Linked DNA regions of Homo sapiens: all the other regions are linked to region 1. Evidence: promoter capture Hi-C in 16 types of primary human blood cells and fetal thymus (Javierre and others, 2016). All regions are on one chromosome and are shown on one strand. Each heading gives the region's core, a stretch centred on a gene start or on the middle of the fragment in contact. The rest is flanking DNA. Distances are from core to core; before and after follow the strand shown.

What was found. The method cuts DNA at HindIII sites, captures the fragments that hold promoters and counts their contacts. A CHiCAGO score of 5 or more calls a contact.
Region 2: a fragment that was not itself captured here is called in contact with the fragment with the promoter of FBXO7 in region 1 in 1 of 17 cell types (M1 macrophages); the score reaches 5.8 in M1 macrophages.
Region 3: a contact is called between a fragment that was not itself captured here and the fragment with the promoter of FBXO7 in region 1, in 2 of 17 cell types (M0 macrophages and M1 macrophages). The highest score is 6.9, in M0 macrophages.
Region 4: a fragment that was not itself captured here is called in contact with the fragment with the promoter of FBXO7 in region 1 in 1 of 17 cell types (erythroblasts); the score reaches 5.2 in erythroblasts.
Region 5: a fragment that was not itself captured here is called in contact with the fragment with the promoter of FBXO7 in region 1 in 5 of 17 cell types (total CD4 T cells, M0 macrophages, M2 macrophages and 2 more); the score reaches 7.0 in total CD4 T cells.
Region 6: a contact is called between a fragment that was not itself captured here and the fragment with the promoter of FBXO7 in region 1, in 5 of 17 cell types (M0 macrophages, M1 macrophages, total CD4 T cells and 2 more). The highest score is 8.6, in M0 macrophages.
Region 7: a fragment that was not itself captured here is called in contact with the fragment with the promoter of FBXO7 in region 1 in 8 of 17 cell types (M1 macrophages, naive CD4 T cells, M2 macrophages and 5 more); the score reaches 8.5 in M1 macrophages.

The regions. Positions count from the first base shown.
Region 1 is chr22:32,472,623-32,477,026 of GRCh38, forward strand. FBXO7 (F-box protein 7) reads left to right here and starts at 2,189. Exons shown (of 9, transcript NM_012179.4): 1 at 2,189-2,502. The coding sequence starts at 2,381. RefSeq lists enhancers at 1,164-1,223, 1,949-2,449, 2,112-2,281, 2,450-2,950, 2,536-2,705 and silencers at 2,270-2,459, 2,470-2,779. The HindIII fragment of the contact is 4,456 bases long and covers 1-3,900 here.
Region 2 is chr22:32,965,153-32,969,556 of GRCh38, forward strand. The region is part of intron 3 of SYN3 (synapsin III); the gene reads right to left. Among named protein-coding and RNA genes, the nearest start is that of SYN3, 91 kb to the right of the region's middle. The HindIII fragment of the contact is 4,613 bases long and covers 189-4,404 here.
Region 3 is chr22:32,050,719-32,055,122 of GRCh38, forward strand. The region is part of intron 2 of SLC5A1 (solute carrier family 5 member 1); the gene reads left to right. Among named protein-coding and RNA genes, the nearest start is that of SLC5A1, 9.7 kb to the left of the region's middle. The HindIII fragment of the contact is 4,183 bases long and covers 1-3,894 here.
Region 4 is chr22:32,902,269-32,906,672 of GRCh38, forward strand. All of the region lies in intron 4 of SYN3 (synapsin III), which reads right to left. Among named protein-coding and RNA genes, the nearest start is that of TIMP3, 100 kb to the left of the region's middle. The HindIII fragment of the contact is 614 bases long and covers 1,887-2,500 here.
Region 5 is chr22:32,073,081-32,077,484 of GRCh38, forward strand. All of the region lies in intron 5 of SLC5A1 (solute carrier family 5 member 1), which reads left to right. Among named protein-coding and RNA genes, the nearest start is that of SLC5A1, 32 kb to the left of the region's middle. The HindIII fragment of the contact is 8,214 bases long and covers 1-4,404 here.
Region 6 is chr22:32,089,562-32,093,965 of GRCh38, forward strand. It overlaps SLC5A1 (solute carrier family 5 member 1), which reads left to right. Exons shown (of 15, transcript NM_000343.4): 11 at 2,051-2,201. Among named protein-coding and RNA genes, the nearest start is that of SLC5A1, 49 kb to the left of the region's middle. The HindIII fragment of the contact is 322 bases long and covers 1,908-2,229 here.
Region 7 is chr22:32,111,422-32,115,825 of GRCh38, forward strand. It overlaps SLC5A1 (solute carrier family 5 member 1), which reads left to right. Exons shown (of 15, transcript NM_000343.4): 15 at 1-1,608. All of the region lies in intron 2 of LOC105373000 (a long non-coding RNA gene), which reads right to left. Among named protein-coding and RNA genes, the nearest start is that of C22orf42, 46 kb to the right of the region's middle. The HindIII fragment of the contact is 2,655 bases long and covers 1,189-3,843 here.

The DNA of each region.
Region 1 (4,404 bases), core at 939-3,438:
ACTTCCTCCTTGCTTTGTTCTCCTCTGCCTTTGCCTCTTTTAAAAAGTTCTAAATTACTAGCCAATCAAGACAAATACAAAATATAAAGTCCCATTCCAGCCAATAAAAACCAGACACAGGCCAGGCGCGGTGGCTCACGCCTGTAATCCCAGCACTTTGGGAGGCCGAGGCGGGCGGATCAGGTCAGGAGATCGAGACCATCCTGGCTAACACGGTGAAACCCCATCTCCACTAAAATAATAATAAAATAATAATAATAATAATAATAATAATAATAATAATAATAATACAAAAATTAGCCAGGTGTGGTGGCGGGTGCCTGTAGTCCCAGCTACTCGGGAGGCTGAGGCAGGAGAATGGCGTGAACCCAGGAGGCGGAGCTTGCAGTGAGCCGAGATCACGCCACTGCACTCCAGCCTGGGCGACAGAGCGCGACTCCATCTCAAACAACAACAACAACAAAAAAAAACAAAAACAAACAAAAAACCAGACACAGCAGTAAAGTGGACACATCAGGTTATATATGACCCTGTCTCCTTTGTTCGGTGTACTCTCGTGACAAAACTGCTGGCGAGTATACCCTTTCTACAAAAAATAAAAATGGCCTTGCTAAAAAAATTAAATTTATATTCAAGTGCTATTTCTTTACAACATCAAAAAACAAACATTTCTAACAATCCCATTCCTCAGGTCTGTATTTATGTCTATCATAAAGCAGAGACTTTTTACACTCTACTGAAAGAGCTGATTCACTCAACTGTAAACTTTGCATGGGCAGAAACATGTCTTTTTGGTCTCTTGAGTCTCCAGCATGTGGGGTATCTGTCACAAAGTAGGCAATCAATACATATTTATTTGCAGAATCAAGGGCAGGATGTGGACAAGTGCTGCCACCTATTGGGAGAAACTTTATTTGACTCTAAGGATTTGGACTATGGTTATCACACAAGGACGAAACTTGATACTCTCTCTCATCTAAGTTATCATTAGTTAGACCCTCTATGGTAGCCAGCCTCCAGGATGGCCCGCAGCGATCCCTGTCTGTTGGCATTCATACCTTTGGCTGGATCCTCTCACACATAGGGTTGGTTTGTAAATATGACAAAAGCCGTATGTGACCTCTGGAGCTAGGTCATAAAAGACATTGTGGCTTATACCTTGGTCTCTCTGGGATCACCTGCTCTGAAGGAAGCCAGCTGCCATGTCATGGGGACACTCAAACAGCCCTATGGGGAGGTTCACGTGGTGAAAACAGGTCTCTGGCCAACAGTCATGACTGTGCCATCCTGGAGGCCGATCCTCCAGCCCTAGTCAATAACTGCTGCCCTGGCCTACAGTTTGTAATCTCATGGGAGACCTGGAGACAGAACCACCCAGCCACGCATCCCCAAATCCCTTTACCTCTAAAACCTGTGGGACAACAAATGTTTATTGCGTTAAACTTTGGGGTGATTGTTATGCAGCCACAGAGTTCTAATAAACTGTCGGACATAGATTACTGGCTACAAATAGTTCTACTTTTTTTTTGAGACAGGGTCTCGTTCTGTGGAACCAGGCTGAGGTGCAGTGGTGCGATCACAGCTCATTGAGGCCTCGACCTCCGGGCTCAATCGACCCTCCCGCCTCAGCCACCCAACTAGCTGGGACTACAGGCAGGCGCCACCACACCTAATTTTTTGTATTTTTTGTAGAGATGGGGGGGGGGGTTTCACCATGTTGCCCAGGCTGGTCTCGAACTCCTGGGCTCAAACGATCCACCCGCCTCGGCCTCCCAAAGTGCTGGGATTACAGGCGTGAGCCACCGCGCCCGGCCAACCTAAGGATTAACCTAAGGCTTCTCAGAGCAGATGCCGCTGGAACTGAGGGCCACGGAAGAAAGGGGGTGACACTTGGTCCTGGGGAGTGGCGACTGTATTGTCTGTCTGCAGCATCCCTATCAGCGCTACCGTTGTTCCACGCACACAGGGAGTAAGTACTGGGAGTCCCAGCCACCGCCGCGGAAAATCTGGGATGCCAGCGAGCGGCCGCATCTCGGCGCCTGCGCACTGTGCCCGCGCTCTCAGGCAGCGCCGTTGCGCGCGGAGTCATCGATCGGCCGACCCCGAGAGGCCCGGTTCCTTTAGGCCGCCTGCCCGCCTCCAGCTCTCGGGGTCGGCTCCAGGAGGCGCCCTCAGGAGAGGGGCGGGCGCTCTATTCCAGAGACCGAGTGGCAGGGCGGCCACTGTGGCGGGGCTCTTTCCCCGTTTCGCCTCAGCTACCCCTCAGCTCCGGTAGTCGCCAGTCCGGGGTCGTCGCCGTTTGGGGCGGGAGCTGCTCGGCCCCGCCGCCGTCCCCGTCGCCGCTTCCGGGTCCAGGCCCCTCGGGCCGCCTGCCGCCGTCATGAGGCTGCGGGTGCGGCTTCTGAAGCGGACCTGGCCGCTGGAGGTGCCCGAGACGGAGCCGACGCTGGGGCATTTGCGCTCGCACCTGAGGCAGTCCCTGCTGTGCACCTGGGGGTACAGGTACGCTGGGGCCGGGGCTGGGCGGCCCGCGGGGAGTGGGGAGTGCTTGGGGTGGGTGCAGGGCGGGTTGGCGTCATCTGTGGGCTGCAGGCGCGGGCGTGGCCGGGCGATAGGCCAAGTGCGGGGACGCCGGGGGGGCCTTCACGGGAGGCCCGGGCTCTTCCGGGCGTCGCGGAGCCGGAGGGTGCAGGCGACGGGAAGCGCGGGTGGTCGGCTGGGGTCCGGCTCCTGGAGAACATGGCCCGGCCTCCCGGGGGCTCTGGTCCCCTCCTCGGTGAGTCATGGCTTCTGGTTTTGCAGTAAACGGAACCAGGGAGAGGAGGGAACGCACAATTTCCACAACTGGTTAGATTTCAAGTTGGAAATGATGAGCTTGGCTTGGGTTAAACCTTTCTGGACTGTGAGGGGTCCGAGTTAATTTCTTCAGCTGTTGGAGTATTTCAATGAAAAAGTTTGGAAATTGCTAGAAGTTAAAAATCTGCCCTCAATCCGAGGCCACCGGTAGCTTGTATCGCTGCTGTGAAGCGGCAACAATTTTAGATTCTGTTGTGTTCATGCGCCGAGCACCGCGGTGAGCGCTTGGACTTCGCCGCCGAAAAGTTTTAGAAAGGACAGCGTGTAGGCGTGTTTCAGACCATTTCATTTTCTTGGGTGAAATGTTGCTTTTTTGCTAAAACTGAGGCAAACGTTGATCTTGAGAGCTTGCAGTTTGGGGGCAGTAAAGTTGAGAAAGGATCATATTCTGTTATTGGTTTGTGGGACTGCAGGTGAAGCTGCTTTGTTTCCCTAAAAGATACTTTTTGGGGACAATAATTTGGGAGTAAAGCGGCAAGGTAAGAGTGGTCCTCTTCAAATACTGAGCTAGTGAATTTGAAACTTGAGTGTGCTAAGGAAAAATGAAAAAGATGTTCCCTGGGGATTTTTAGGTGAATTCTTCAAAACAAAAGCAAACCTTCCTACGTTTTCACCTTATTTTTAGGGAATTGGGTAAAATGAGGCCGTTATTCTGAACTTCTCGCCCTTTCATTTTCCTGGTTAAGACATTATTAGATTGAAAGTAAGCCTGTTTTCTTCCTGATTAAAAAAAAAACCCTAAATAAGATACTGACATAACTCCTTTTAAACATTATAGTAAGTGACATGCCTACTGTTATTTCTTGTTGTTAAACCTGTGTGTTTTACATACTGGCATCGTTACCAGTAGGTTACGAGTAGAAGATTGAATAAATCTTCAAACTTATTTTTTAAAGGTATTACCAAGTATATATATATTTTATTATTTTTAAATTAGGCAGTCTTGAAAGGACGTGAAACTCAATATGACTGCCCAAAAGGGCACGTTGGTTTCTCTTTCAGATTTCTTTTTACAGTTGAGGCTGGTTACCTGGACAGAATTTAAGCTTCAGCTTGTGAAAGTAAACTCATTTTTTCTGAAAGTATACTCATTTTCTAATAAAGGTGCAGTTTTAAAATATGTCCATGTGATATTATTTTAAAAATATCTTTACTGAGCAAGTGGAGCTAGGATTGTCATGAAATGCTTTTATTTGTTTTGTTTTTGTTTTTTAAGAGAAAAGTGAAAGCAAGTTTATTAAGAAAGTAAAGGAATAAAAGAATGGCTACTCCATAGGCAGAGCTGCCATGAAATACTTCTAAGAAGGCTGGAGTTTCTAGAATTTCATTTCCTGGAATTAAATACTCCTCTTAACGCCCCAATTTCAGAGGTAGAATCCTGGAAAACTATATATTACTTTAGAAATAGCTTTTCCCTTTTTCTAAAGTGGGAGGAAGAGCTGGTATATTTATTAAGCGGACCATGACCTTTTCTGCAAACAGATACTTGAACGTACCTTGTACTAGATACTGTTTTAAAAAGCAACCTTTTGCTGTGACAAATGACCC
Region 2 (4,404 bases), core at 1,245-3,744, 490 kb after region 1:
GAAAATTAAATGTATACAGATAAACTGCTTAGAGGATGGCTTGCACATTGTGTAAATGTTAATGTCAAATCTTGCTTTACCTGCACTGTACTATATCAATGATTTATCTGCATGATTCCTGCAGGGCTAATGCTTTGTTTGTGTTGTTTACCATGCCAAAGGCTCTTTGGGTTCTTGCAGTAGCCTAAAGCTTTTCTCTTTAGCTTCTTTCATCTTTCCCCACTCTGGATAAGTTTGAGAAATATATATTGAACACAGATTAGGTATCTGGGTCCTTGGAGCACCTATTATGTACCGAATAAGTGTCCTGCCAGCCTCCCCACCACAGTCTACCATAGCACTGTGTACCCTACTTTCACGGCTTCTAACAGTTTGTAATTATGGTGCGTACGTGTGTGTGTGTGTGTGTGTGTGTGTGTGTGTGCATGCTTGTGTGTGTGCGTAAGAGAGAGAGAGACAGATAGATAATATGATTAATTTCTGGCCCCTGCCATTAGATGTTAAGTTCCATCAGGTAGAGATTCCATCTGGCTTTTTCGTTGTTGTTGTTGTTGTTGTTTTATGATGGAGTCTCGCTCTTTCGCCCAGGCTGAAGTGAGTGGCACGATCTCGGCTCACTGCAAGCTCCGCCTCCCGGGTTCGCGCCATTCTCCTGCCTCAGCCTCCCGAGTAGCTGGGACTACAGGCGCCCGCCACCACACCCGGCTAATTTTTTGTATTTTTAGTAGAGACGGGGTTTCGCTGTGTTAGCCAAGGTGGTCTCGATCTCCTGACCTTGTGATCTGCCCGCCTTGGCCTCCCAAAGTGCTGGGATTACAGGCACGGGCCACCGCGCCCGGCCAGATTCCATCTGTTTTTAATCACCATTGTAACCTGAGCACGCAGCACATAGGCAGTCAATGAATATTTGTGGAATGAATAAAGATACTGTCCCTGTTCCCAATGAGCCCAGAGTCTACAGGGAGCGAGGGGCAGGTGAATTAGTAATCTCAAAGTCATCTGGGAAGTGTGATGTAGACACAGGTATGAGGTGCTAGGGGAGTACAGGGAAGAGGCACCTCACCCTGCCTGGATGGAGGGGGAGGGCAGAGGAAGCAGCACAGACATCATGTTGGAGCTAATGTTGAAGAATCTATGGCAAAATCTAAGAAAGGATGTCCCAGGAGGAGAGACGTGCATAAGCAAAGGCATGGAGATGTGACTCCAAGATGGTATTACCATGGGTGGGCACTGGGGAACCACAGCAGTTTGGTGAGACCGAAGTCTAAGGTAGAGCACGGGAGGAGATGAGCAAGGAAAGGCAGGCAGGGGCAAGCTCATGGAGGGCCTTGTGTGCAGAGCTTGAGACCCCCAAAACAAGTCTAATGCACAGGTCAGCCCTTTATGCATGAGAGGAAAGTGACCAAGCCTTCCCTGGATTTTACTGCTTCAGGATACACCTTCCCAGATGAGCCAGCATAAAGATTAAGAACCATAAACAGGCAGGGCATGGTGGCTCACACCTGTAATGTCAGCACTTTGGGAGGCCAAGCTGTGGGGACCACTTGAGCACAGGAGTTTGAGACCAGTCTGGGCAATACAGTGAGACCCTGTCTCTACAAAATATTTTAAAAATTAGCCAGGTGTTGTGGTGCGCACCTGTCATCGCGGCTACCCAGGAGGCTGAGGTGAGAGGATGGCTTGAGCCCAGGAGGTTGAGGCTGCAGTGAGCCATGACTACACCACTGCACTCCAGCCTGTGTGACAGAGTGAAACCTGTCTCAAAAAATAATAAAATAAAATAAAAAGAACCATAAACACAGATTCTTCAGTTAAACTGACTCTGAATTCCAGTTCTGCCACTTGTATGCTGTGTGGCCTTGGGTAAGCCTCAGGTTCCTCATCTGGAGAATGGGGGAACTCATAGTACCTGTTCATCAGAGTCATGATGAGGATGAAACACGCTAATCCATATGAAATGCTTAGCGTGTGCCTGACACTTAGTAAGCATGTGATTAGATACTGCCTATGATCATTAATTCCTTCAGAGCCCAGGCTGTACAGCTGCCATCTGCCTCAGGCACCGCCAGTGGAAACTCTCTCAGGTCACCCTCTAAAACTCCCTGAGATGAGGGGGCCAAGACTGGACCAAAACGGGTCCAGTTTAGGTTGAATTCTATTGTAAAGTAAATAGTGCCTTAGAACTACTAAAATCCTATGTGATACTAAAGATAGACATTGTAGGGCACATAAACTCGTTCTCTGCTATCAGCCTCCCAGCTCCTTCCTGAGGGACTAGAAAATGCGCCCAGACTGTGTATGATCCAAAGGAAGTCATTTCAATGCCTAAGTCCTGTTGATATGTCAGCTCACTCCCCTCCTCAGGAGACTCTGCTTAGAGTGGGCTGGGAGATTCCTTAGACAATCTAATAGATTAGTTTCCAGTTTAGCATAACAGCCAGACAGATTTTTGCAGTGAAGTCATCCAAGTCAATTAAAAGGCATTTTTCCCTGCTGTGAGTTCAGAAGTCCCTTTGGTTCATTCCAGTTTTCTGGGATGTTTCATAATAGGTTCCACCCTAGGTTAATTAATAACCCTTGATTCCCACTGAAATGCAAAGGCTCAAATCCACTGTGTAAGCACATCCGGGCAGAGGCTGCTGGCAGGGCTGGGGTGAGCCCAGTGGGGGCTCCTCTCATCAGGGAGTGGGCCAGACCCCAAATGGTACAGACAACAGCAGAGCTGGCAGAAAATGTAGAGTAGCCACACAAAAGCTGAAGGCCACGCTGGAGAAGTGGTGTAACCAGGGGCAGTAGCGCATGGGGAGGGAGATCATCAACAGATGAAGGAATCACAAGGCTGGGGATTAGGCAGATTGGGAGCAAGTTGACATGTGCAGTGTGAAACGGCTTAGTCCAAGTGGCTGGACTAAGGTGGTGAACAAGAGGAGGTTGGCAATGGCTCGCTTTCAAGAAATGCCAGCTGAAACACATCATGTGGGTCTGACTCCATCCTCTCAGTCTTAAGAAAAATAGGTCATCTCTTCTCCTCCAGTTTCAAATACGAATTACAGGTATGAGAATGGCTCAAGTGGTTAAGGAACACAGTGGCGAGGATGTACATGCATTCACTTAACACTTATGAAGTCCCTTCCATGTGCCTCCTACCCAAGCATCATATTCAAGGATGAGATGACTTTTGCACCAAATCCAGAGCTGAGCTTTTCTGCCTCCAGTCTCAAGCCACCATTCCTATCCAGCGAATCTTCTAAGACCACTGTCAGCCTGTGCATTCTAAAATGAAATCACGGTCACAGCACTCCATGGCTTAAAAAGTTCAATACATACATCCTGCCTCTAGGACACAATTCTTAGTTGCATGCCTTGCACTAATAGCCCACCCTGAATAGACTGCCCTCCACCTTCTTTGTCAGCTTCGTCTCCCACCAACCCTTCTCATGCATGGCATACCCTGGTCATTTGCCCTGTACGTGACAAGCTGAGACTTGAATCATGCTCTTTAGCTAGAAGGCCCAATGTGCACATCTGCCCACTCACCCTCACCTAATTCTTGTCCCCAAACCCAGCTGCACATCAGGTTCTCTGTGAGGTCTTTCCTGAGAACATCCCAAGGTTAGACAAATCTCTACGATAGAGAGATCCTCGTCGCAACACATTTTGGCCACTGCCTTCAATGTCTATCTTCCCACCAGATAAAGAACCCTTTGAGTGTGGAGGGCTCTGTCATTAGGACAAAGTACAGAGCAGGTGCTCGGTGAGTGCTTCTTGAATGAAGGAACAGGTTCAGATAAGACAAGCTCTGTTTGTTTTGTTACACATCCTTCAAGAAGTGAAAGGGCTTACTAAGTTCTCCTTCAGAATGTCCACTTAATTTCCACTGGAGTCTCATTTATCAATGGTACTAACAGGGGGCCGTGCTGATGCTGATGAAGTGGTGTGGCAGTAAGGAAAGGTGAATTTCCAAACACAGCAGCTAAAGGCCAAGGAACTGAGCTGGGTTTCCCAGTGCAAGAGGATGGACTCCCTTTGACTCCCATGCCTCCTTCCTTCTCATCTCCAGTGCAGGTGCTGAATGGTGCCACCAAACCAGGATGCTGTACTCTCCTCCAGCAGAAAAGAAGAGGAGAGTCTAAAGGGTCATGCAACGGGCAACACAGTCCATGTTGTGTTCAGAATCAGCGGGGCTCATTCAACCTTGGTTTCAGCATTCCCCAGCCCTCGCTGCTTGGAGCTCTCCTTTGGCTATCAGCTATGGTTCAGCACTCTATCCTAGGCTCCTCCCAAGAAGAAGGCTTCTCACAGGTAAACGTGAAAAACATAAACTTCATTTGTTTTTGCTATTTTTTTGCTTGCTATTAAAACCATCAGAAGGGACTAATGGCTTCTTAAAAGGGAAAAACAAAA
Region 3 (4,404 bases), core at 553-3,052, 420 kb before region 1:
GATAGAAGCAAGGGACAATCAGAGGGAAGGAGCAAGGACTCCAGGATTGAAATTACAAGAAGAGTCAGCTTACATAGGGATCTGGGCTGGGAGGTCCCCGGAAGCCTGAGTCATGCTTGAGGCAAGCCAAGGCAACTCATCTGAGTAACATGAAACCATGAAACTGTACCTTACGTAACTGTGGGCTGGTTGGTGGCCCAGGATTCCCTTTTTATGTGGCACCAGGGTTTGCCACGTTTCACTCACAGCTGTCTGTGCGGAGATGTGATGGTAGGAAAGCTGTGAAGCTCAGGGGCTGAGCTTCGAAGGGGAATTCCCCACTCTTTGGATATTGGCAGCAGAAATTACACAGAGAAGTGAGGCCCCAGGTACACAGCCCAGTGAGAGACTCTTGTTTTGGAAGAGAGTTTGATCACACCTACCAGGACTACTGGCAGAGCCAGCTCCATGGGATCAGCTCCCTTAGATTCAGAAAGAAGCATTCCAAAGGGCAGGGAGTGGGAACTGCACAAGGAGCCACAGGATTTGGCTTGTTCCAGCTTTGTGACATTGGGCAATTCATTAATCTCTGAGTCTCTGAGAGTCTCCTCTATAATGTGGAGCTGGTCAGATAAGGAATCTCAAAGGCTCTTCCAGGACTAAAATTCTAAGTTTCAGCTAGGCACAGTGACTCACACCTGTAATCCAGGCATTTTGGGAGGCAGAAGTGAGAGAATTGCTTGAGCTCAGGAGTTCAAGACCAGCCTGGGCAACATAGCAAGATCTTATCTCTACAGAAAAATTAAAAACTAGCTGGGCGTGGTGGTGTGCACCTGTAGTCCTAGCTACTTGGAAGGCTGAGGTGGGAGGATCGCTTGATCTGGGAAGGTGAAGGCTACAGTGAGCCATGATTGCATTACTGCCTTCCAGCCTGGGGGACAGAGTGAGACCCTGTTTCAAACAACAACAACAACAACAAAAACCCCAAAAAACAAAAACAACAACAACAAAAATCCCAAACCCAACAACAACAAAACAACAACAAAATAGTTGACAAACTTTTTCTGTAAAGGGCCAGATTCTAAATATTTCTAGCTTTGCTGCTATGCAATCTCTGTCACAACTATTCCACTCTGCTGTTGTAACACAAAAACATCCAAGGAAAATGGATGAATGAATGGATGTGGCTGACTTTATTTGCAAAAATAGGTGGAGGGCCAGATTTCTTGTTTTGAGGACACACACAGACAGTCTCAGAACAGAGCCTGGCACACATTAAACCCTCAGGTTTAGCTCTTGTTCTTCTTTGCAACTGAAACCTATTGAAGGACTGTCATATCACTTATCTGATTGAATCCTCAATGATCTAGTGAGGTAAGTAGAGTGAAGATGATGATTAACCCCATGGGTTGCCCACGTTTACACAAGATAATGACAGAGCTAAGACTTCCTCTGATCTTCTGGTTATTCAGGTCTCTTTCTCCTTGTCTTTTGAGATGGAAATTTATGAGGCCAATTGGTGTGGCCTAAAGATTGGTCTGAAAACCAAGAAATTATTTCATTTGGGGCCGACCAGAGACCCTGATGAAAATTTTCCCTGAAGAAAGAGGACAGGTTCTCAAACTTTTCAAGTCCTCTTGGGTAAAATATATCTGATTTTATCGTTATGTTTCTAAAACCTAATGATCAGGTCAAAGTCCAGCCACTTATGATGTCACCAGAGGGGCCAAAGGGTGTCTTAGAAAAACCTGGTAGTCCCAACACATGGGTGGGGAGCTCATGAATTGGAGAGGAAGAGAGGGAACCAGGCAACTGGACATGAGAGAGGCAGGGATGCACTCCAGGAAGAAGTGAGAAGGAAAGATAAGTACTTGACTCTTCATAAGCCTGGGGGAAACAATTCCTACCTCTTCTGGCCCAGGTCCATTTGGCCCTCTCTCCCTGCTCTACTTGCTTTTTACCTGCATGTGCTCTTACTTATCCCAGTGCCCTGTGATGAGAGCTAGGCCTACGCTTTTCTTAATTTTTTTTTTTTGGCCTCACAACACCAAGGCCTTGCACTGCAAGAAGGCACTTGACAAATATGGGCTGAATTAAAGAGAAATGAGGGAGAAGAGGGACATGTCCCCAGAACCTCATGCTGGTCCCCCTTAGTGGTGTCACCTGAGACCTGAGTCTATATTCTGGCCTCTGGTGCAGGGGCCACACAGTATAGACAGTGGTAAGAATTCAGGAGGTTAGAAGGGTGCTGGGTCTAAGTCAAAGCCTGCCTCCAGCAGTGCTCCAAATTTCTGTTTTTATGCATAGAGAAAAATTGTTGTTGTTTAGGCTCATGGGAGTAAAACTGGAAAAGGAAGCCTTAATCAGAGTTCCCAATTTCAGCCCACACTGGACTCCTTGGTAAAGTTTGGTGTGGCTATGTTTCCTCACTCTCAGGCCATTTGTTTTCTCGGTCTGAGTCGAGGTTTTGCAAAACTTGGTAGTTCCCCATTGGTATATTTTGGGTGGGAGCTTTTGGGTTATCACAGCAGTGTCTGCTTTGCTCTTTCTTCTTCCTCCTTCTTATTTTTCCTCCCTTTTCTTCTCTTCCTATTACTCATTCTCCTTTTCCTATTCCTCCACCTTCTCTTCCTCCTTTTTATTCTCCTCCTTCTCCTCATTCTTTCCCTCCTTCCCTTTCTTCCTTCTCTTTCCCCTCTCTTCTCTTTTCCTCTTTCTCTCCCCTTCATCCTTCTCTTTTTTTGGTGGAATCACTTCCCTCCCATTCTTCATAGCTTAGTCTCTCCTCTAAGTAGCTTCTCTGATTAATACACAACCACTCACCACTCCATGTATTCTTGGTGTTTCTAGGCATCAATTGATTGATGTGTAACCAAGTCCCTGCCATCTAGTTAGTACCTAAGCATCTGGCTTCTCCTTTCTCACTGGCTGCCTTCCCAGAATTTTCTAACAGATTAGTGCTTCTGTAGACAGAAAAAAAATACCATTTTTTGTAATCCGTATTTCTGGTTGGTAGAAGTCGGAAGAGGCAGAAAGGTGGTGAAACTATCAGTTAAAATGAATTCGTTGTATTATTCATATTAGAAATATATCTGGGATTAAATTAGTTAATACATGTAAATCTCTTAGGACACTATATAGTTAATGCTGTCCAAGGGATGCCTATCATGATTATCATCATTATAATTGTTTCTCAGCCGGGTGCGGTGGCTCACACCAGTAATCCCAGCACTTTGGCAGGCCGAGGCAGGCAGATCGCCTGGATTGGGAGTTCAAGACCAGCTGGCCAACATGATGAAACCCCGTCTCTACTAAAAATACCAAAATTAGCTGGGCGTGGTGGCAGGTGCCTGTAATCCCAGCTACTTGGGAGGCTGAGGTAGGAGAATTGCTTGAACCCAGGAGATGGAGGTTGCAGTGAGCTGAGATCGCACCATTGCACTCCAGCTTGGGCAACAGAGCAAGATTCCATCTAAAAAAAAATAAAATAGTAATTGTTTCTCATCTCCAGCTTCTCCTCCTTAAGCTGTGAATTGAATCATTCATCTATTTATGTAGTAGTATTCTCTCATTCCACAACTGCATGTTGATACCTACTATGTGCCAGATGCCATGTAGGTGCTGATATATCCATGTGCATGTGTGTGTTTATGTCCCTCACATTCTTACAAAATATACGTAAAATTATCAATAATAGTTAAGTGCTCAGAAGAAAGTGTATTTGAGTCAAGGGTGAGGTTCAGTGGGAGGGAGAAGGGTCTTCCTTATTCAACATAGGCTCAAAGAGGGCCTTTCTGAGGATTGAGCATTCAGGTTGAGATTTGAATGATCAGAAGGAGCCAGCCATGTGAAGATTCTGGGATGAGTAACCCAAGTGGAAGGAACAGAATGGCCAAAGGCCCTGATGTAGGAAGAAGCTTGGGATATTTGAAAAACTGAAAGGGGGCCAGTGTGGGGTACAGATGGTATATTTATTTATTTATTTATTTATTTGAGACAGGGTCTCACTCTGTTGCCCAGTCTGGAGTGCAGTGGTGCAATCTTGACTCACTGTAACCTCCACCTTCCAGGTTCAAGCAATTCTCCTGCCTCAGCCTCCCTAGTAGCTAGGATTACAGGCTTGTGCTACCAAGCCTGGCTAATTTTTTTGTATTTTTAGTAGAGACAGGGTTTCACCATGTTGGCCGGGCTGGTCTTGAACTCCTGGCCTCATGTGATCTGCCCACCTTGGCCTCCCAAAGTGCTGGGATTACAGGTGTGAGCCACTGCACCCGGCCAAGATGGTATATTTAGATCAGGTGCTTTGAGTGAGTGACCCTGAATTGCTGATGATTCCAAAGATGGGCTCATCTCGATGAGAGGATGGATTGGTCTTCAGCCTCCTTAACCTCTAAACGCCAGTGGAAGACCTCACCTGCCTTTTGT
Region 4 (4,404 bases), core at 944-3,443, 430 kb after region 1:
CAGTCCCCAAATTCCAGGCTGGTCTGGGTCAAGGGAGAATGTAGTCAGTGAGGGTTTCTAAGCACAAGTGAGCAGTAACAAGGAATCAGGAAGATGGGTGTGAGTTGGCCATGCCAAAGATATTTTCTGGAGCTGGGATGGCAACATGGGTATTCCAGGCAAGACTGGCCAATACCTCCAAGGTCTGAAGATAGAGGAAGCCATTTGAAATACCTTCTCCATTCAATCTCTGCAATCTTGTGAAAAATTCATTGGTTTTTTATTAGCCTATTTTTCAGATGGGAAAATTGAGGCCCAGGTTGTACCTTGCTTATGATCACCTTGCTAATAAATGGTAGAGCTGTTCACTCCAAAGCATTCACACCAGCTTCTGAGAATAGAGGCTTTTATAAAACAAGCAAATGCAAGGAGGATGGGACTCGTGGGCAGGTTCATGGGACTAGGTTCTAACTGAAGATGTGGTACCGTCACTGACCATGGGAAAATTACTGGAACTTTCTGAGCTCCTTTTTCCACATCTGTTGGCAAATAGAGAAGATCTGAATATGTCTCAAGTCAGAGTTTGCAAAACAGTATGCTGCATTAAGCATAACCCCTGGAGACAAAAAAAAAAAAAAAAGTTGGTGGTCCTGGATGTATTTTACTGAGGAGGACACTGAGGTTTAGAGCAGTTAATAACTTTCCCAGTTTACATGGCTAAAATGTGACAGTGCCAGAATTTAAACTACGGTGGTTTGGATTCAGAATCACAGTCTTAAAAAACACGCTCTCTACTGTTTTTCGAGTACAGAGAAATGATAATTGATGCTCAGCCCCTATGTCTGGGATACATTAGGGAGTGGTGGGGACTCTGGTGAGCTATAGAGTCCATGCTCTGACTAAAGGTACACTCCTGTGACTGACCTTGAGTAAGACCAGTGAATGTTTGGTGCCCCAATTTTCTCTACCCTAAAATTGCTATAATTATCTCTTCATCTCATAGGGTTGTTTTGAAGACTAAATTAATTAACATGCCTGGCACATAGTAAACATTATGTAAGTGCAAGCTGTTATGACCTGTGAGGTGATCTTTGTTTTACACATTCGTTTTTTTAAAAAATACCCATCTAACAAGTTCTATGTCTTAAACATTCAAAACACCTACTTATATATAGTACAGGGAACTGCGCACACCACTGACGATCAAGTTTTGACAACTGTTCTGGGGCCTTTTCCTCCTCCTTCTGAGCAACACTAGAGCTTGTGGGTAGGGGGAGGGGGCTTGGGAAAAGAATTGAGCTCTCCAGGCCACAAGCCATGCGCTTCGCACATCAGCAGCAGCCTCCATAGCTGGCTGCTGTAGCCCCTCACAGAGCTCATGGTTACCATCGGCCTCCAGGCTGTAAAGAATGTGAGGTGCAATGGGCAGCCTTCCAGGTACCCAAGAAGGGAGGCTTCATCCTTTCAGGATGTCTCAGGCTTCAGATAAAACCCTTCCTGTGTTCCAGCTCATAGCTGGCAGGGGCAATCGGCAATGACTGACGACAATGGGTGACTTGTCAAAAAGATGTGTGTGTGAACCAAATGCCAGCTAGCTGGAGCAAAGCATGCATTCAGGAGGCTGGTGGGAAGACCATCAACTGCACAATGGTTTGTTTTGCACCTACTATGTATTGGGCCCCGGGCCAGGCCCAGTACATAGTAGTACATACATTTCAGGAGGTGGTGAAATTAATAATAATAGTAGTTCACCTGTATTTACTGCCTCAGAGCACCACAACAGACATTATTTCTCTTAATCCTTGGCACAAGTCTATGATGTAAGCAGGCCTCATTTCCTTGCTTTAAAGGTGGGTAATAAATGAGACTTGTTTAAAGTTATAAATTATGGCAGAGATATTTGGCCAAGCTTGTTTCCTTTTCCACCTGGGTATCCCCATCTGGACTACATTTCCCAGCAGGCCTTGTGGTTGAGTGTGGGCATGTGACAGAGTTCTGGCCAATGGGATGAATGGAATGCTAGTGATACTGCAATATGGCTCTGCGAGGCCTGGCCCATAAAAATCTTTCCAAGCAGTCTATCCTCTCCTCCTCCCTTGGCTAGCAGATGCAGAGAGTCTGCAGAGGGCTCTGAGTACCTAGCGATGGTGGAGTCACAAGATGGAAGGCGCCTGGTTGGATTCCTGAGGAACTCTGAAGAAGGTCGTCTGCTGAATGCCACACTCTACTCTTGATTGAGTGAGACCTAGGCTTCTTTTGTGTTAGACCACCAAGTTTTTTGTTTTTTTTTTTCATAACAGATAGCCTGCCCTAATATACACAGTAAAAGCAGAATTGGGGTTTTAGAGGCATTTTGCTTGTACATGTGACAGTTTTTTCGACCATCTTCCAAACAGGCAGAAAAATCTCCTTATGCATATAGAGTCTTGGGATTTTATAAAGCATTTGAACAAGTAATGGGACAGTTTCTTCCTTCCACTCCACGCAACACTTGGACTGTGGACTCTTGTCCACTGTGGGAAGCTTTCAGGTGGGGTAAGATGTCTGGGCTAGCCACAGCTCTGGTATCATTTGCTCAGCCCTTCGCAATTGTCCTGGTAGACAATAAAGTGTCAGTGTTGTAAGGCATTCTTTGCATGCAATGAATTAACTTCCCTCCTGTCCATGGATAATGGTACAAATTATATACCGTCCCTCAGAGAACTGTGAAAATAGTCATCATTATGTGCTTTTGTGTTCTGTGGTTCAGATGAGAACCCCCAATTGCAAGCCCCTTCCCCTCTCTGAGCTTCAGTTTTCTCATCTATAAAACCACAGGGTGGAATTAAGTGAACTAAAGAGTCTCTTGCGAGCTCGAATTTGCTATACTCTCACAAAAAAGCAATATTTTGTATGAGTCAGACACTGTCCCACATTATTTCACTTAGTCATTGAAATGAAGGAGGATACAAATAAGGTATTTTGGGGAAAATAATAGAGAAACTGGAATTGCCCACCTTCAGTTGTTTCCTCCAAAGTTTCTATTCAATAAACTTTAGGGGAGTGGCAAAGTGGTACACAGTATTACTCTAACTTGCAACTTCACTGAGCCTGCAATCTAGGTGGGAGGACAAAAACCACACTTAGGGAACCAATAAATGTCCCAGAGCATAAGGCAAAGAGTCTGCATGGTCAGGAAGACAAAGGGGGACAGAGGGAAAGAGACCTACCTTGGTTGCCACCCTCCACCCTGCCTCAAATTCCTGACTGCAGACACAGTTACGCTCTGAGCACTTGCTGTGCGCCAGACACTGGCTGGGTGTTTTGCTTTCACACTGCATTTGATTCTCACAGGCGCATTGCCAGGAGGGCATGATTCTATCTGGTTAAAGAAGTGGAGCTTAGGAGGCACATGGTCAGTAAGTCACTTATCCAAGGCTCCCACATAGCTGATAAGTACCAGAGCCACAGGGTTTGAAGCAGGTCTGTGTGGCTGCAAGAGCCTGTATTCCCTGCACTCTGCCTCTGCCCTCCTATATGGGCAGCTCTGGCCTGAGATTCAAGCTGCACTAACTTCCCCGGGTCTTGAAGAAGAGATACTGGCACCCCCTCTAAGGGTTCGTGCCCTTTCATTCATGAATCACAGTCAGGTATCCTGAGGAAACCTCAGCTTGCAGGGCATCCCATGGCAGAGAGGTCGGACATTCACAGAGAGGTGCAGCAGGTTTGGTATCATTGGCAGAGCCCTGGATATTCTAACTGGGAAACTCTGGTACAAAAATTCCAAGGTTTGCACAGCTAGAGGCCCATGGGAAAGACCTAGGAGCAGCTGAAACTAACTGACCCCACCTGGAAGCAGATCCCCTCCAAGGACACAGAGGGAAGAAAAGCGGCAGGAAGTAGCTGGTCTGGTTGTTCTCAGGAAGGCGCACGACCTGGAAGAGAGAAACGTCTTTCCCTGCAAACAACGATCTGGCATTTCTCAGTGTGTGCTCCTGGGACCCTCTGCAACACAGCTCACTTAGCATGTTGAAAAAGGGGATTCTTGGGCCTCAAACACAATGAATCAAGATCCCCTGGAGTGGGGAACAGGAACCTGCATTTAGCCAAGCTCATCAGATAGTTCTAATGCTCACCAGGATTTAAAAATGGAAAATTCCACTTATTTGAAATGATTCTACTTAGTTCTTCCTTAGATGCCCTATTCATTCCTGCCATTTTGCCCATCAGTGATGCTTAACCCCAGGGGAAAAATAGTAAATATATTAATATCTTTTTTTAACTTTAAGTTCTGGGATACATGTGCAGAATGTGCAGGTTTGTTACATAGGTACACATGTGCCATAGTGGTTTGCTGCACCTATCAACCCATCACCTAGGTTTTAAGTCCTGCATGCATTAGGCATTTGTCCTAATGCTCACCCTCCCCTTGCCCCCCACCCCCCG
Region 5 (4,404 bases), core at 814-3,313, 400 kb before region 1:
TTTTGGTGTCATTTCTAAGAATCCACTGCCAAATCCAAGGTCATGAAAATGTACCCCCTTGTTTTCTCCTTAGAGTTTCATAGTTTTAGTGCTTATATTTAGGGCTTTGATCCATTGTGAGTTAATTTATGTATATGGTATGGCCATGTGCCACCATGCCCAACTTCATTCTTTCGCATGTGGATATCCAGTTCTCCCAGTACCATTTTTTGAAGAAATGATTGTTTTCCCACTGAATGGTCTTGCACGTAAGTTTTCACTGAACTTGGTGAAAACAGGCTCTTGCCGATAATGCTGTTAAGGTTTTGTCTTGGAGTTGGGGCCAACACCTAGGAATAGTGCTGCCTCCTTGTGTAGCTTCCTGACTCACACTGCTTCTGCCCTCGACCCATGCCTTTGTGCTTTCTCCACTAATGTCATGATTCAGCCTCCTTTACTTTCTCCTCCTCTGCTTCAGGGTTGGTGTTTTTTTTGTTTGTTTGTTTTGTTTTTTTAGATGTAGTTTCACTCTCGTTGCCCAGGCTGGAGTACTGTGGCGCGATCTTGGCTCACTGCAACCTCCACCTCCCGGGTTCAAGTGATTCTCCTGCCTCAGCCTCCTGAGTAGCTGGGATTACAGCCACACGCCACCATGCCTGGCTAATTTTTGTATATTTTTAGTAGAGACGGGGTTTTACCATGTTGGCCAAGCTGGTCTCGAACTCCTGACCTCAGATGATCCGCCCGCTTCGGCCTCCCAAAGTGCTGGGATTACAGGTGTGAGCCACTGCGCCCGGCCCCCGGGTTGGTTTTTAGTTATAAGATGAAAGGCCTGGGCTTTCCCATTTTATTTGATTAGAGACCAGTGTGCAAAGCCTGGACTGGAAAATGCTGGGAGGGCTAGAGAAATCGGGCTTTGGCTTCCTGAGAAAGGGCAGTGTGTCTGTCTAAGAAGAGAAAAGGGAATGTGAGCAGGAGGGTGAGGAGGTCACACTGCAATGAGCAGGAGGGTGGTACCTGTCTACTGTGCACGTAGAGAAGGGTGCTGGGCCTCCCCTTCTCCCAGGCAAGTGTCCTCCAAGTCCACAGTTCAAGCAGGTGAAAGTCTGTGGACTGCAGTTGCCATGGTAAGAGCACTCTTTGTCCTCAGAGCTGGTGCAGGGGTGGCAGGGGTGGTCATATAAATAAATTAGGTGCCCAACCTCTCTCCCTGCCTTCTCTATCACCTCACCTATTTTTCAAGTTACTGATTAAACCTTCTTGGACTTGGGAGCCCCCAGGGAGCTGAGGGACAGCCTCTTTCAGCTCAGATCTGGATGGAGCCCATCCCCGAGGAGCCCGCTTTTTCTAAATTTGGCTTTTGAATTGTATGTGTTGTGTGCTGCTCCCTCTCTGTGTGATTTTTGAGGCTCCTTACCCTCGTCACCCTCCTGCTCACGTTCCCTTTCTCTTCTTGGACAGATGCACTGCCCTCCCTCAGGAAGCTGAAGCCTGATTTCTCCAGCCTTCCCAGCATTTCCCAGTCCAGACTCTATACACTGGTCTCTAACCAAATAAGACTGAAAAGCCCAGGCTTTTATCTTATAATTAAAAACTAACCCTGAAGGAAAGGAGGAGAAAGTGAAGGAGGCTGAATCATGATATTAGTGGAGGCCATGACCAACATTATACTTACTCCATCCATTGCCCAAGACCAGGGATCCCTTGACAAATACATAAGAAGTTTGATAGCTGCCCTCTACTTAGTGCTGGTCTCGTCATTTAGTCTCCAACAGGGGTTTTACTTACACCCTCTCCAGTTCTCAGAAGAGTACAGCATGGGTAGGGATTTCTATTATTTATTTGTTTGTTTACTGAGATAGGGTATTGCTCTGTTGCCCAGGCTGGAGTGTAGTGGCATGATCATGGGTCAATGCAACCTTAAACTCGTGGGCTCAAGTGATCATCCTGCCTCAGCCTCCTGAGTAGCTGAGACTACATCCATGTGCCACCATGCCCAGCTATTTTTTACTTTTTTTTTTTTTTTTTTTTTTTTAGAGATAGGGTCTCACTATGTTACCCAGGCTGGTCTTGAACTCCTCGCCTCAAGTGATCCTCTTGCCTTGACCTCCCAAAGTGCTGGGATTACAGGTGTGAGCCACCACATCTGGCTGGGATTTTTATTTTATTTTCCATTTTATGGGAGAGAAAACTGAGTCTCAGAGAAGTTAGGTAATTTCCCCAAATTACACAGCTAGTACGTGGCAAAGCCAGAACTGGGAGCAGGGTCTCTCCAGTGCCAAAGTCTGTTCTCAGTGTTCTGCCCTGTGCTTGGGTGGGATGAAGGCATAGAATGAGGGGATGGGATAGATCATGTGGTCTTATGTTCTGCGCTTTCATTTTACAGATGGAGAAACTGAGGTCCAGACAGGGGAAGGGACTATGAGGGGTTAAACAGGAGCAGAACTGGGATGAGAAGCAGATTTCCTGACACTGAATCTAAACCTTTTGACATTATATGCCCCCTACCTTCTAAGTCTTTCATTCTTCCAGTACAGAGTAGGTTAGAATTCAAGACCCTGGGAAAAATGAAGAGAGCCAGTTAAATGAACCTCACAATATAAATGAGTTGCCAAGAGTAGGATTTGAGAGGACTATGGGGAGAGAACATCAGCTGCACACTGGGTATATGAAGGATCTGAAGGAGGGACATCTGGGCAGGGGGTAGGGTAGGGAGGGATGCAGACAGGCAAGGCTTTGTCTTCGTAAATTCGGCTGGTTTTAGGTTCAACATGGGTCACAGAGCATTGAAATTTTAAAAAGAATTACACCGATATCAACTGTACCTGCTAGAAGCTCACTTCAAGACACACAGGAATGCAGGGCTCATGGACAAAAGAAAATAACTGTTCATTAACAAAATACGGTGATAAGGCATTTATATTCCACACAAACCAAGATTCACCAATTGTGTGTGTGTGTGGAAGGGCACGGATGGTTTGTGATGGGTGAGAAGAGAGGAGGGTTAGTGTGAGATTCCTGTCCAGAGAGCGAACAACCAGGGACCTGCCACGAAGGCTTGGGGAGAATGTAGGGATCCAGTGGGGTTGTAATTAATGGGAGAGAGGAGAAAGTACAGGGCATTGTAGGTGCAGAGCCCAGATGTGGCCCAGGCCATTGGCAGCTGTGATGTGGAGCGTTGGCTATGGCTACCATCTTTTGGTCACGTATTTTTGGGCTCTGAGACTCAGAACTGATTGTCCTTCCATGAGCTCCTGAATTTTATTGGCTCCCTCGAGCACCTGCCTTATCAAGCTCTGAGAAGCATTCCATTCTGTAAAATTTCCCGGCATGTGCATCTTATGCAAATGTGCACAATCCCTGGAGATAAAGCCTCAGATTTTATGACTTACATGTGATGACTGAATGTTCATGTCCCCATTTGTGTTTCCTAGGGCTGTTATCACAGATCACAGCTACAGTAAATGTTTACAGCAATTCTGCTGTCCATTTTGGATCCTTGGGTGAAAAGAAGAGCTTTTGCTTTTGCTTAAGATTTGAATGCTCATTCCCAGGGCCACTCACTTTCACAAGTGGAAAGAGAAATTTGAGTAATGGGGCTTCACCATCTGAAACTGCGAGGCTAGGCAGGATTTATCGAATGCTCAAATACATCTTGGTTACGACCAGAATGGACAGCAAACACACACATATAAAATCACTGGATCTCAAAACATCAGAGCCAAGGCGAAGCAACATGCCCAAGCTCCCAATCAGAGACTCAGTTACTTGCAGATGCTTTCCAACGGGGGTCTGTATTTTTATTCCCCATGAATTCCATGGACATCGTTCAGCCAAATTTTCAACGTGATGGGAACAACACCCCTGGGCTAAATCCAACACACGATCTATTTTTGTAAGTAAAGTTTTACTGGAGCCCAGCCAAGCCCATTGTTTGTGTTGTCTGTGGCTGCTTTTATGCTTTAACAACAGAGTGTGACAGAGACAGTAAATGCAAAGCATAAAACATTTACTCCCGGGCCCTTTACAGAGAAAGTTTGCAAATTCTTGATCTAGAGGACCATAATTTTTTATTTCACTTCAAGTTGGTTTTGCTTAGCAGCATTGGAGAAATTTTCTTCTTTCCCTTCTGCCTCCCCTTTCCCTCTTTCCTTCCTTCTTTCCTTCCTTCCTTCCCTCCCTCCCTTCCTTCACTCCCTCCTTCTCTCCTTTCTTTCTCTCTCCCTCTGTTACCTTCCCTTTCTTTCCTTCCTTCCCTCCCCCTTCCTCTCTCCCCCTTTTTTCACTTTCTTCCTTTCCCCTTCTTCCTTCCTTTCGTTCTCTCTTTCCTTCTCTCCCTTCCCTTTCCTTTCCCTCCCTCCATCCTTCCCCCTACTCTCTTTTAAGGGCTAACATTAATTTAGGGAAAGAGCAATCTGGGATAAG
Region 6 (4,404 bases), core at 819-3,318, 380 kb before region 1:
ATCTTTGAATATATGAAAGATGGCAAAATGGATAAGGAGTAAGACCTGTTCTGTTGGGTACCATGAGGACTACATTTGATGCTATAGAGAGGTAGATTTCAGCCTACTCAGAACTGTCTGAGGGCAGGTTCCCTGTAGGGTAGGAGATTTCCTGTTGCTATAGAGATGGGCAGAGGAATGTTGTGGAAGGGATTCATGTATCAGATGGATGATAGGTCTAGGTGATCCTAAGGTTACTTTTACTCCTGAAACTGTAAAACTCTTGTTAGTGGGTCCTCAGCTTGGCCTGGCCTTCTAGCCTCAGCAGGTGTCCCCCTGTACACTCCTTGGTATGGGAAGAATAATAGAGATTATAGCCAACCAGGCTTGCCATAATTGAGAAAACTTTAATAACAAGAGTTCCGTATTCCTATTTGGGAAGGTGTAGTATTCCGTATACTGATTTGGGAAGGTATCCCTGTTTAACACATCAAGAAATGAGGCCTAGAGCTTGACGTAACTTGCTTAGGATCAGAGTTAGAAATACAGCCTTGTCTTTCAAAAAAAAAAAAAAAAACAAAAAAACTTAATTGAGCTTAAATTCACCTATCCTACAATTCCCTCATTTAAAATGTACAATTCAGTGGTTTTTTAAGTATATTCACAGAGTTGTGCAAGCATCACTGAAATAAATTTTAGAAAATTTGTGTCATGCCATAAAGAAATCCTATACCTGCTAATGAAATGAGCAGTCTCTCCCTATTTCACCCCAACCTCCCAGTCCCTGGCAACCACTAACATACTTTCTGTATTCCTAGATTTGCCTATTCTGGATATTTCATATAAATAGAATCATATAATACGTGTTTTTTTGTGACTTGCTTCTTTTACTTAACATAATGTTTGCAAGGTTCATATGTGTCCTAGCATGTATTTGTATGTCATTCCTTTTTATTGATGAATAATATTCCATCACATGTTTACCCATTTGTCAATTGCTTATGCATTTTGTTTATCCACTTATCATTTGGTGGACATTTGTATTGCTCCTCCTTTTTGGGTATTACAAGTAATAATATTACAAACATTAATGTATGAGTTTTTGAGTGGACATATGTTTTCATTTCTCTTGGGTAGAGAGAAATGAAATTCCACCTAGGAATGGAATTTCATTTCTCTTGGGTAGAGAGAAATGAAATTCCACCTAGGAATGGAATTGATGGGTAATATGGTAGCTGAATGTTTAACCATCTGAAAAACTGACTGACCCAGACTATTTTCTGCAGTGGCTGTACCATTTTACATTCCTGCCAGCAATATATGAAGGTCCTCATTTCTCCATATCTCCACTCACACTTGTTATTTCTGTTTTTTAAAAATTTATTATCATAGCTATCCTAGTGGGTACAAAGTTATTATCCCACTATGGCTTTGATTTGAATTCCCCTGATGTCAAGCATCTTTTCATGTCATTATTGGCTATTTGTATGGCTTTGGAGAAGTGTCTATTCAGATCCTTTGGCATTTTAAATTGGGTTGTCATTTTATTATTGAATTTTAGGAGTTCTTTATATGTTCTTATATTAGACCCTTATCAGATACATGATTTGCACGTATTTTCTCCCAGTCTGTGGATGGCTTACTTTCTTGAGAGCCCCATCTTTTGAATAATAGTTTAAATCTCTTTCTGTTATATCATAAATATTTCAGGTGAGAGACCTTATAAAAATCCCCTCAGATGGAAACACACATACACAAACACACACACACACACACACACACACACACACACACACACACACCCCACCACCTTCATCATCGTCCAGTTGCAAAGTATTCACCTCAAGTATGTTGTGTCTCTGGCTCTTTGTGGCTGCTGTGGGCTTATAATGGGCTAATAAATTTAAAGCCATAGGACTACTTCTTAAAGCTTCTAGTCTTTTTGGAGACAGAAATTGGATAACATGGCATGGTTTCAGAAGGCAAACAAATCTTGAGTCCTCATATATTTTTCAAGTACAAAAGAGCTGAAGGTGCTGTTATGTGCCACTCAAAAATCCTTCTCTTCCAGGACTGCGAGGCCTGATGCTATCAGTCATGCTGGCCTCCCTCATGAGCTCCCTGACCTCCATCTTCAACAGCGCCAGCACCCTCTTCACCATGGACATCTACGCCAAGGTCCGCAAGAGAGCATCTGAGAAAGAGCTCATGATTGCCGGAAGGTAAATGCAGCTTCCCCCAAGCCACAAAAGCTTGAATGATCAGAGAGGTTCCATCTGTGTTACCCCTCAAGCTAGGGAAGGTTGGCAGATGCCTGGGTAGAATGGGAATAATTTCTGTGGCTGGTTATATGTGCCATTTGGTGGCATTTAACTTTATTTACTTATTATTTTATTTTATTATTTTTAAATTTTTTATTTCCATTCATGTTTGGGAAACAGGTCGTATTTGGTTACATGAGTAAGCTCTTTAGTGGTGATTTGTGAGATTTTGGTACACCCATCACTTGAGCATTATACACTGAACCCAATTTGTAATCTTTTATCCCTCGCCCCCCTCCCACCCGTTTCCCGTGAGTCCCCAAAATCCACTGTATCATTCTTATGCCTTTGCAACCTCATAGCTTAGCTCCCACTTATAAGTGAGAACATATGATGTTTGGTTTTCCATTCCTGAATTGCTTCACTTAGAATAATAGTCTCCAGTTTCATCCAGTTGCTGCGAATGCCATTAATTCGTTCCTTTTTATGGCTGAGTAGGATTCCATCATATGTATATATACACCATAATTTCTTTATCCACTTGTTGATTGATGGGCATTTGGTCTGGTTCCATATTTTTGCAATTATGAATTGTGCTGCTATAAACCTGCGTGTGCAAACATCTTTTTTGTATAACGACTTCTTTTCCTCTGGGTAGATACCCAGTAGTGGGATTGCTGGATCAAATGGTAGTTCTACTTTTAGTTCTTTAAGGAATGTCCATACTGTTTTCCATAGTGGTTGTATTAGTTTACATTCCCACCAACAGTGTAAAAGTGTTCTTTTCACCACATCCACACCAATATCTATTTTTTTTATTTCTAAATTACAGTCATTCTTGGAGTAAGGTGATTATTTTTTCCTTGTTAATTTGTTTGAAATTTTTTGTAGATTCTGGATATTAGTCCTTTGTTGGAAGTATAGATTGTGAAGATTTTCTGCCACTGTGTGGGTTGCCCGTTTACTCTGCTAACTGTTCCTTTTGCTGTGCAGAAGCTCTTTAGTTAAGTCCCACCTATTTATCTTTGTTTTTGTTGCATTTGCCTTTGGGTTCTTGGTCGTGAACTCTTTGCCTAAGCCAATGCCTAGGAGGGTTTTTCTGATGCTATCTTCTAGAATTTTTATAGTTTCAGGTCTTAGATTTAAGTCCTTGAATTATCTCAAGTTGATTTTTGTATAAGGTGAGAGATGAGTATCCAGTTTTATTCTCCTGCATGTGGCTTGCCAATTATCCCAGCACTATTTGTTGAATAGGGTGTCCTTTCCCCACTTTATATTTTTGTTTGGTTTGTCAAAGATTAGTTGGCTCTAAGTATTTGGGTTTATTTCTGGGTTCTCTCATTCTGTTTCATTAGTCTCTGTGCCTATTTTTATATCAGTACCATGCTGTTTTGGTGGCTCTGGCCTTATAGTATAGTTTGAAGTCAGGTAATGTGATGCCTCCAGATTTGTTCTTTTTGCTTAGTCTTGCTTTGGCTATGTGGGCTCTTTTTTTGGTTCCATATGAATGTGAGTATTGTTTTTCCTAGTTCTGTGAAGAATGATGGTGGTATTTTGATGTGAATTGCATTGAATTTGTAGATTGCTTTTGGCAGTATGGTCATTTTCACAATATTGATTCTACCCATCCATGAGCATGGGATGTGTTTCCATTTGTTTGTGTCATCTGTGATTTCTTTCAGCAGTGTTTTGTAGTTTTCCTTGTAGAGGTCTTTCACGTCCTTGGTTAGGTATATTCCTAAGTCTTTTTTCCTTTCTTTTCTTTTCTTTTCTCTTCTCTCTCTTTCTTTTTTTTTTGCAGCTATTGTACAAGGAGTTGAGTTCTTGATTTGATTCTCAGCTTGGTCACTGTTGATGTAGCAGAGCTACTGATTTGTGTACATTAATTTTGGGTCCTGAAACTTTGCCAAATTCATTTATCAGTTCTACAAGCATTTTGGAGGAGTCTTTAGGGTTTTCTAAGTATATGATTGTATCATCAGCAACCAGTGACAGTTTGACTTCCCCTTTACTGATTTGGATGCCATTCATTTCTTTCTTTTGTCTGATTGCTCTGGCTAGGACTTCCAGTACTATGTTGAATACAAGTGGGTGAGAGTGGGCATCCTTGTCTTGTTCCAATTCTCAGAGGGAATGCTTTCAACTTTTCCCCTTTTGGTATTAT
Region 7 (4,404 bases), core at 1,266-3,765, 360 kb before region 1:
CTACCTCCAAATACAGTCACACTGTGAGAAACTGAGGGTTAGGAAGTCAGCAAGTGAGTCTTGAAGAGATACTAAACAAACCCACAACACAGATAAAGTATGCATTTTGGAGATTTCCAAGCCAGAGTCTCCCGTGAAAAAGGTAAACGGAAGCAGTTATTGTGCAGCAAAAGGAAAAAGAATTACAAACTGAACGTATGTAGGTGAGGCAAGGCAGGGTAGGGCAGGGCCTTTGGGTAGGCTGATCAGAGGGTTTTTCAACAATAAATCAATGGGAATGCATTTGTTGCTCCCAGGACCCTGGCACCTTGACTCTGGTACTATAGCATGTCAGCAAATACAAGCAAAGCCCAACACTCTGATTTGCATTTATGCCAATCTAAACTATCCGGTGTTTAGTTTGATTTTTTGAGTGCAGGTTCATTCAAGGACCAGGTTCCCTTGTGCTCAGGGTGAAGTAGAACCAGAAAACATCGTTATCCATTCCCAGAAGTTTTGGAAGAGCCTTGGTAGAAAAGCAGAAGCTGCTTTGACCGTGAAAATATTTGACTCCTATCAGTTTTTGGTCAGGAGAAGATATCCACCTAGACCAACCTGAGGAGAAGGCTCAGAGTACAGATATACCCCGAGCAACGTGATCAATGTCCTTGAACCTTCATTTTTCATCTGAAAACAGAGACATAAATGCCTGGCTCACAGATTTAAATGTTATACATTGACAGCATTTATCAGTATAACATTTATTTAAATAAGTAGGTGCTCAATAGGTGTTGGTCTTCTAACTTGTCTACATCCCATCCCCATTCCAGGGTCTTCAGAATTGAAGGAGAGATGTTGTATCACTGTTAGAAGGCTGCTTTGGGACATTCTGCAGCAGGGAGGAGGGACTGTCAACCCCTACACCATGACCACCAAGTTCCTCACCTTGGCTGAGTCCCTAAAACTCTCTGAACCTCAGGTTCCTCCAAGCATAATGCAGACTTCACAGAGCTGTTGTAAAGATTAGGTGAGGTCAATTGATACTGCTTAAAAGGCCCGGTCCGTAGAAAATGCCCAATAAACATTACTGCTTTCCCCCTCACCCTACTGCCTGAAAAAATATTACACCTGTGAGACTGACTTTGAGAACCAGTGTGGGTGGGGAGTTGTGCATATAAACTATTTAATGAGTACCAAACACAAAAGTCAAGCTTGTAAAATATCAGGCCTTGCCCCAGAAAGACAAATACCACATGATCTCACTGATATGTAGAATCTTAAAAAGTCAAACTCAGAAGCAGAGAGTAGAATGATGGTTATCAAGGGCTGGGGGAGGGAGGGACTGGGGAGATGTTGGTCAAATGATACAAAGGTTTAGTTAGGTGGAATAAGTTCAGAAAATCAATTGTACAATGTATCAATTATAGTTAATAGCAATATAACATATACTTGAAAATTGCTGAGAGTAGTGTGAGTGTTCTACCACAAAAAAATATGTGCAGTAATAGATGTTAATTACCTTAATTTAGTCATTTCACAATATGTACATATATAAAAATATGTTGTATGCCATGAGTATATATAATTATTATTTGTGAATTTAAAAAATAAAAATAATTTCCAAAAAAAGTGACAGGCACTGGACACGTAGAGGAGGGGCCAGAATTAAGCAGATGGGCCCTAAAAGTCAATGGGGTCAGAGTTTTCTTTCCCTGGGTGCTGTAATGTACCTCAGCCATACCTACACACCTTTGATTTCAGAAAAGGCTTTCGGTCCTAACACAGCTCTACAAATCTCAAAGGAGGAACTGGGGAAAAGGTTTCTCCATTCTTCCAGTGTTGGTGAGGAAATGAAGCCCCTTTAGAAGTTAACTCTAAATAGTGGTTTTCAAAATGTGATCTTCAGACCAGCAGCCGCAAAATCATCTGGGAACTTGTTAGAAACGCACGTTCTCAGGCCCTATTCCAGACCTACAAAATCAGAAATGTCAGGGGAGGGGGTGCATCCCAAAAATCTGTGTTTCAACAAGCCCTCCAGGGGTTCTGATGCAAGCTATAGCTGGAGAATCACTACTCTAAGCAGCCCTTGGTCTGGTTCTGAACTGCATGTGCGTGAGCTGCCAGCACTCTTGTGTGAAGAAGGTCCCTTTATCAGATGGGTTTTTGCTACCAGTTTTCCAAGCATGGGATACATGGTATTAAATTGCCTGTTCTTTCACTGAGTGGCTCTCAGGACTTCAAAAGCTGGCTGGGTTAAGGATGCAACATGGGGCTCTGGGGCTGAATTGTACTTACCTGAGTCCCTTGGAGCCAGTCACACAACACCGGCCCCACTGACCTCATCCACACCTCCCTAATCCCATCCCCACCAAACTACCAAGACAATGCCACCTCACTGAAACAACTTCATCCATCAAATTACAATTTGGAGGTTAGGTGAGATTTTCTTTGGACAGGATAGGAAGGATGTTAAGAAACCCCTTTCATCCAGGCAAGCTCACTTATGCTTTTCTCTCGAGGTTCACTTTTGTGAAGAAGGACAAGAAAACACAAGCTGCAGCACCTCTTTTAGAAGATGGTGACTTCAGCACTAGGTAAGAGTGCGTTCCAGTGAGTTCCAAAGAAGGAATGTCACTGAGGGAACAGCAATGCCGGGCACAGCTACACACAAGCAAAGTAGTGCTCTCAGGTAGGTCAAAGGCCCCAGGACCAACTTCACTCTGTAGGGACAGAGGCCAGGCTTTGCATTTTGAAAGATTCCTTTTGAAATAGGCATCTATATTTAAAGAAGTTTTTTCTGCCTGATAAGGCATGATTTTTCAGTTCTATAAATTGAGGACAGATAGGCAGTCATTCAACCCCATAGAGAATACCATCTTCTTTTTTTTTTTTTTTTTTTTTTGAGACTAAGTCTTGCTCTGTTGCCCAGGCTGGAGTACAGTGACCTGATCTCCGCTCACTGCAACCTCCGCCTCCCGGGTTCAAGCGATTCTTCTGCCTCAGCCTCCCAAGTAGCTGGGATTACAGGCATGTGCCACCACGCCTGGCTAATTTTTCATATTTTTAGTAGAGACGGAGTTTCACCGTGTTAGCCAGGATGGTCTCAATCTCCTGAAGTCATGATCCACCCGCCTCAGCCTCCCAAAGTGCTGGGATTACAGGAGTGAGCCACTGCGCCCGGCCTAGAATACCATCTTCAATTTGGGGAAATGAATAGTGCCCCTGAAATTATTGTAGCATAATTTATCATTTGCTCACCCTAAGTAGCTCAGTCTATTCTAACGGGGCTTTGTACAGGCAGAGTTACTCACCTCATGTTTACTAGTGGCTCTGCAGTTGAAATAATCTCTAAACTTACCTATATTTTAAAAATTGTTCAAGTTGCTAGATCCAATTATCAACTATCCTGGCCTCCTGCTTCCTGACCCATATCTTGTGCCAACTAAGCTCACCATAGATATATTTAGTATTTGTCCAGAATCTCTGGAGAACAGGGAATCAGGATGTTATGGGGTTTTAATGTTTTTATTTTTATCAAAGGAATACATTTTAATTTGTGGGACTATAATGCAGGTTAATATAGCATCTGTATGGCATCTTTTGCATATGTAGCTCCCATCCCGTTTTCAAAGTGTCCTCATCACAACGACAGGAGGTAGGTAGATGCTACAAGCACCAAGGTCCTCATTTTTCAAAAAAACAAAATACACAGTTGAGACTAAATAATTTGCCAAAATATACACAGCAAATCACTGGCAAAACCAGAAACCGAATCCAGGACAGTCTAGACATTTTCCACTGTCCACCCATCCAGTGGCTTTTCTTCCTTTCCCTTTAGCCTCTCAAAACTCAAAACATAACACAAGCTTCATGTCAGATCCAGTCCTCTAGGGAACGCCAGCCAAGTGAAATTCTCCACTTTTCCCTCTCCTCTGCCTCGCTTCAGGAGACTGAGAAGGCACTACAAATAGTGCTCTGTGGATTTCCTTCCTTCCATGAGAACAAGCCATCCCTTTACCTTTTGAACCATGTTTATACACAGGAACCACTCTCAGCTCCTTTCTAAGCTACCCTGAAACCAGTCAATACTAACATTATGATTTTTTCAGTGGGATTATATGACAACATAATTGGGATTTCACAGGTGTAATTAAAAGAATTAATTAAATTTAAATAAAAAGAATTTCCTCTTAAGAAAATGGTTCAACAAAAAATACACATCTGTCAGCTAGAAGTGTTAGGTGCTACCACTTGGAACCGAGATCACCTACCCTAACCTTTGTCAAACTGATTAGATCCTGTTCTGTGTTTTCTTAAGATTCTTTATTTGTCTAGTTGGTATCAATTTATCACAAGGCCAATGAACTATATGTTTATTATTTTCTGTATTCTTGATGCTCTGGTATTTGGGGGATCTTGCAGACT